Linked DNA regions of Homo sapiens: region 2 is linked to region 1. The links are contacts of gene promoters, found by promoter capture Hi-C in blood cells and fetal thymus (Javierre and others, 2016). All regions are on one chromosome and are shown on one strand. Each heading gives the region's core, a stretch centred on a gene start or on the middle of the fragment in contact. The rest is flanking DNA. Distances are from core to core; before and after follow the strand shown. Region 1 holds the start of WDR88 (WD repeat domain 88). Region 2 overlaps PDCD5 (programmed cell death 5).

Evidence for each region. The method cuts DNA at HindIII sites, captures the fragments that hold promoters and counts their contacts. A CHiCAGO score of 5 or more calls a contact.
Region 2: a contact is called between a fragment that was not itself captured here and the fragment with the promoter of WDR88 in region 1, in 1 of 17 cell types (naive CD4 T cells). The highest score is 5.3, in naive CD4 T cells.

The regions. Positions count from the first base shown.
Region 1 is chr19:33,130,696-33,133,536 of GRCh38, forward strand. It overlaps WDR88 (WD repeat domain 88), which reads left to right and starts at 1,419. Exons shown (of 11, transcript NM_173479.4): 1 at 1,419-1,750. The coding sequence starts at 1,475. RefSeq lists an enhancer at 1,256-1,425. The HindIII fragment of the contact is 21,697 bases long and covers 1-2,841 here.
Region 2 is chr19:32,585,613-32,588,453 of GRCh38, forward strand. It overlaps PDCD5 (programmed cell death 5), which reads left to right. Exons shown (of 6, transcript NM_004708.4): 4 at 204-295; 5 at 1,246-1,317; 6 at 1,641-1,841. The coding sequence ends at 1,688. Among named protein-coding and RNA genes, the nearest start is that of PDCD5, 5.8 kb to the left of the region's middle. The HindIII fragment of the contact is 1,001 bases long and covers 888-1,888 here.

The sequences.
Region 1 (2,841 bases), core at 169-2,668:
GGGAAACCAGGCAGGAGAATGTGCACCCACAGCCTGGGTTACACGGCTGCAGCTCCCTGCTCTGAGGCCACCTCATGTGTACCAAGGAGACCTTTTTGAAAAATAAAGTGCAGACCAGGTGTGATGGCTAATGCCTGTAATCCCAGAGCTTTGGGAGGCCGAGGCGGGAGGATTGCTTGAGCCCAGGAATTCCAGACCAGCCTGGGCCACATAGAGACCCCTGTCTCCACAAAAAATAAAGTATTGAGCATTTGTATTTTACATTATGAAAGTAGCATCATAGATCACAACAATTTTAAAAGCAGAAAGAAGGAAGAGGCCGGGTGCGGTGGCCCATGCTTGTAATCCCAGCACTTTGGGAGGCCGAGGCCAGCGGATCACTTGAGGCCAGGAGTTCAAAAACAGCCTGGCCAACATGGCGAAACCTTGTCTCTACTAAAAATACAAAAAAATTAGCCAGGTCTGGTGAGCATACACCTGTAATCCCAGCTGTGTGGGAGGCTGAGGCACGAGAATCCTTTGAACCCTGGAGGTGGAGGTTGCAGTGAGCCGAAATTGCGCTACTGCAATCCAGCCTGGGTGACAGACTCTTGTCTCCACCAAAAAAAAAAAAAAAAAAAAAGAAGGAAGAAAATCACTTTTAGTTTTATCATCCAAAGATGACACCCTTCTTCAATATTTTGAATAATTCCACCCTGTCCTTTTCTAGCTATGGGGCTGTTATCTGACTGGTGGTAGCATTTTATTCCCTGTCACTGTTGTTGGGGTTGTGACAGATATTTCCCTCATCTATTATAAATGTTGTAAACCCACCCCTAATAACTGCATCTTATTTCATGCAGGGGCTACCCCATAACTTACTGACCTTTTCTGTTTTGTCATGAAGTGGGTTGGCCAGGAGCTGTACCCAGGCAGAGGACATGAAGAAATTGCCCTGTGACAGGAGCCAGGGAAACCACAGCGGAGGGCTGGAGGCTGGGGTGCTGGTTTTGCTGGCTCGGCCTGGTTCCCAGAATGCAAAGCCCATTTTTCTTTTTTTTGCAACCTCCACCTCCTGGGTTCAAGCCATTCCCCTGCCTCAGCCTCCCATGTAGCTGGAACTACAGGCGCACGCCCCCATGCCTGGCTAATTTTTGTTATTATTTTTTTTAAGTAAAGATGGGGTTTCACTAAACCTGTTGGCCAGGCTGGTCTCCAACTCCTGACCTCAGGTAATCCGCCCGCCTCGGCCTCCCAAAGTGCCGGGATTACAGGCGTGAGCCACCGCGCCCGGCTGCAAAGCCCATTTTTCTATAGGTAACCTGTGCTGCGCGGGGTGGCACTAGTTTTCACCCAGCGGGCGAGGAGGCAGCGAAGTCGCGGGCCCAGCGTAGCGCGCGCCTCCGAAGGGCTTGGTGCGGGCGCGGGCGCGGGCGCGCGGCGCCACCGTTCCCATCCAGGCTTGTCGGCGGCCACCGGCGGACCGGGCTTCGAGATGGCCTCCCCGCCGCGGTGCTCCCCGACAGCCCATGACAGGGAATGCAAGTTGCCGCCACCCTCCGCCCCCGCCAGCGAGTATTGTCCCGGCAAGCTGTCCTGGGGGACCATGGCGAGGGCCTTAGGCCGCTTCAAGCTGTCGATCCCGCACACGCACCTGCTGGCCACCCTCGACCCCCTGGCCTTGGACAGGGAACCACCACCGCATCTGTTGCCTGAGAAGCACCAGGTGCCGGAGAAATTGATCTGGGGCGACCAGGACCCTCTCTCCAAGGTCAGAACCGCCGCTGGGGTGAGGGGGCACTGGCCTGTTCCCCACACGGGAGGAAGGCGCTCGAGCTGTCGGGGGACCCATGGAAAACCCACCTGGCTTCACCAGGACCCCCAGCGAGGCCCTAGGCCCATTTCCCCATCTGTGGTACATCTGTGGGCAAAGGTCAGACCCACCTGAGCAGGGCGTGCTGGGGATGCCGGCGGGGGCTCCCCGCACTGCCACCTGCTGGGGAACCAGGACTCTTCGCTGGGAGGAGGCTCTGCCCCACCATGTGACCCCATCTAGACCTTGGAGTCTCCGTAGGTAGGCCCACCCACAGTGATGCTCCTAATTGCAGCCCAAGGGTCGGTGGCTCAGCTCTCCCCGTCCAGGAGATACAGTTAGCGTCAGAAGAAACGGGAAACTCAGAATAATAATAACAACAATGAATTGGGCCAGGCAAGGTGGCTCACACCTGTAATCCCAGCCCTTTGGGAGGCCCAGGTGGGAGGATCACTTGAGCCCAGGAGTTTGAGACCAGCCTGGGCAACATAGTGAGAGGTCGTCTCTACAAGAAATAAACTTAGCCCAGTGTGATGGGGCGCACCTGTGGTCCCAGCCACTTGAAAGGCTGAGGCAAGAGGATCCCTTGAACCCAGGAGTTTAAGGCTGCAGTGAGCTATGATTGTGCCACTGCACTCCAGCCTGGGCAACAGAGCGAGACTGTCTCCAGAATAAATAAATAAATAAATAAATAAATAAATAAATAAATATAGAGAGAGAGAGAGAAAGAAAGAAAGAAAAAGAAAAAGAAAGAAAGAAGGAGAAAGAAAGAAAAACTGGCTGGGTGCAGTGGCTCATGTCTGTAATCCCAGCACTTTGGGAAGCCGAGATGAGCAGATCACTTGAGGTCAAGGGTTCGAGACCAGCCTGGCTAACATGGTGAAACCCTTTCTCTACTAAAAATGCAAAAATTAGCCAGGCATGGTGGTGCGTGCCTGTAATCCCAGCTACTCAGGAGGCTGAGGCAGCAAGATCATTTGAACCCGGGAGGCAGAGGTTGCAGTGAGCTGAGATCATCTCACTCCATCTCAAAAACAAAACAAAACAAA
Region 2 (2,841 bases), core at 138-2,637, 550 kb before region 1:
CACTACCCCCATGTGCCCATGTGGAGATTGGCATGGGTGAACTTCAGTTTTCTCATTTTTAAGAGGAGTAACAATACTGTCTTGCCCTACACTGAGGGACAAGCTTGTGAAGTGCTTTGGAAAGGTCAATGCATAGTTTTAAGGTATAACATAAGTGCATTTGATTTTAATGGATTTTTTGCATATGTATTTTTTCTTTTTAGTAAGTAACTTAGCACTTGTAAAGCCTGAAAAAACTAAAGCAGTAGAGAATTACCTTATACAGATGGCAAGATATGGACAACTAAGTGAGAAGGTAAGCTTAGACAGCCTTGAGGAACTTTACTGTTACCTGCTTTATCAAAACATGGCTTCAAAAGGTCAGCTGCATCTTCACTGGATTACAGAATTCTTGCTGACTCTCAGAAGAAATTGTTGGAGAGAATAGTCATACCTACTTTAAAAGAGAATAAATTGCCTTTCCTAAATTCCTCTGCTTCGCTCCTTTCCTGGCGTTGCTCTGGAACCTTGTTGGTGTCTGTGACCCAATGACTGTTAGGGTCAGCTAGCTTCAATTGCCCCTGCACTGGAAGCAAGGTTTGTCAGTAACACCAATTAAAATACTACCAGTGTAAGTAGAAGGTGTGTTTTGCAGATGAGAAGGTGCTAAGATGCCTTGCTTATGTTCTCTGTGTTGCTGTAATACCATGAGGGGTATGTTGTGGCAAACCTGGCCTTTGAGATCAAGACGAACCCCACCTGCCCTGAGAAGCCGTCTGCTACCACCACAGCCTACCCGAATTGGTCCTGTCCCCTAAACCCCTCACACTGAGAACTGCTTGTGTGGGAGAGAGCTGGTTGGGTTGATCTTTTCCGAGTGTGACTTACCTCCTTCAAGGGGATGTTTAAGCTTCTCGGGCAGAAGTGGTGTGTCTATTCCTGACACCAAACACCGTGGTATATGTGGTTGTCACACTCAGCTAGTGATGATAAAGGTGTTCTTAAATATGTTAGCTTTCAGTTTTCCTGAGGAAGCAATTTTATGGATACTTCCCCCTCCTTCTCAAGTGAGGAATAGCAGAGCAAATTTTATTTGGAACTTAAACCAATAGTTATAACCAATAGTTTCAACCTCCTGCCTCACCACTGCTTCCTTCCTGAGCTCTTTCCCCACACCTCAAAAAGAGTACAAAGTGATTCCATCTGCAGAGGTAAATTCTTTGTTTAAAAAAGTACTGTTTTTCTTATCTTTTCTGGTTCTCCTAGGTATCAGAACAAGGTTTAATAGAAATCCTTAAAAAAGTAAGCCAACAAACAGAAAAGACAACAACAGTGAAAGTAAGTGTCCCCAGATGCTTGTGGCAAATGAAAAGATGGATACTTTAAAGATTAATGTTGAGTATACATCTACCACACATATTTTTCAGCCCAGAGACATTTTCCTTTTGTCAAACACGTGAAAGTTTGGGGAGAAAGGCTGAATCTGTTGGGGGAGGGTTCTAATTTTTATAGGCTCTTGACTCCATTCCCACCCTTTTAGTTCACGCTAAGTTGCTTTAAAGACACAAATGTCTTGCTAAAATTGGTAGAAATCTTTTCTCGGAAAATCTGAGTTATGCTTTATTAGAAATGTTCTGACACTCATTTAATTTTCCTCCCAGTTCAACAGAAGAAAAGTAATGGACTCTGATGAAGATGACGATTATTGAACTACAAGTGCTCACAGACTAGAACTTAACGGAACAAGTCTAGGACAGAAGTTAAGATCTGATTATTTACTTTGTTTATTGTCTATATGCCTTTTAAAAAAATAAACTTGTTATGCAAAATAAAACATTTGGGTAAGTTGTTTTAGTATCATAGCCAAGTGGCCAGATCTGTGTTTTGAATTTTTCCCCTTCCTACCAAAAGCTTTTTTTATTTTTATTTTTGTTATTATACTTTAAGTTTTAGGGTACATGTGCACAATGTGCAGGTTAGTTACATATGTATACATGTGCCATGCTGGTGCGCTGCACCCACTAACTTGTCATCTAGCATTAGGTATATCTCCCAATGCTATCCCTCCCCCCTCCCCCCACCCCACAAGAGTCCCCAGAGTGTGATGTTCCCCTTCCTGTGTCCATGTGTTCTCATTGTTCAGTTCCCACCTATGAGTGAGAATATGCGGTGTTTGGTTTTTTGTTCTTGCGATAGTTTACTGAGAATGATGATTTCCAATTTCATCCATGTCCCTACAAAGGACATGAACTCATCATTTTTTATGGCTGCATAGTATTCCATGGTGTATATGTGCCACATTTTCTTAATCCAGTCTATCATTGTGGGACATTTGGGTTGGTTCCAAGTCTTCGCTATTGTGAATAGTGCCGCAATAAACATACATGTGCATGTGTCTATATAGCAGCATGATTTATAGTCCTTTGGGTATATACCCAGTAATGGGATGGCTGGGTCAAATGGTATTTCTAGTTCTAGATCCCTGAGGAATTGCCACACTGACTTCCACAATGGTCGAACTAGTTTACAGTCCCACCAACAGTGTAATAGTGTTCCTATTTCTCCACATCCTCTCCAGCACCTGTTGTTTCCTGACTTTTTAATGATTGCTATTCTAACCGGTGTGAGATGATATCTCATTGTGGTTTTGATTTGCATTTCTCTGATGGCCAGTGATGGTCAGCATTTTTTCATGTGTTTTTTGGCTGCATAAATGTCTTCTTTTGAGAAGTGTCTGTTCATGTCCTTCGCCCACTTTTTGATGGGGTTGTTTGTTTTTTTCTTGTAAATTTGTTGGAGTTCACTGTAGATTGTGGATATTAGCCCTTTGTCAGATGAGTAGGTTGTGAAAATTTTCTCCCA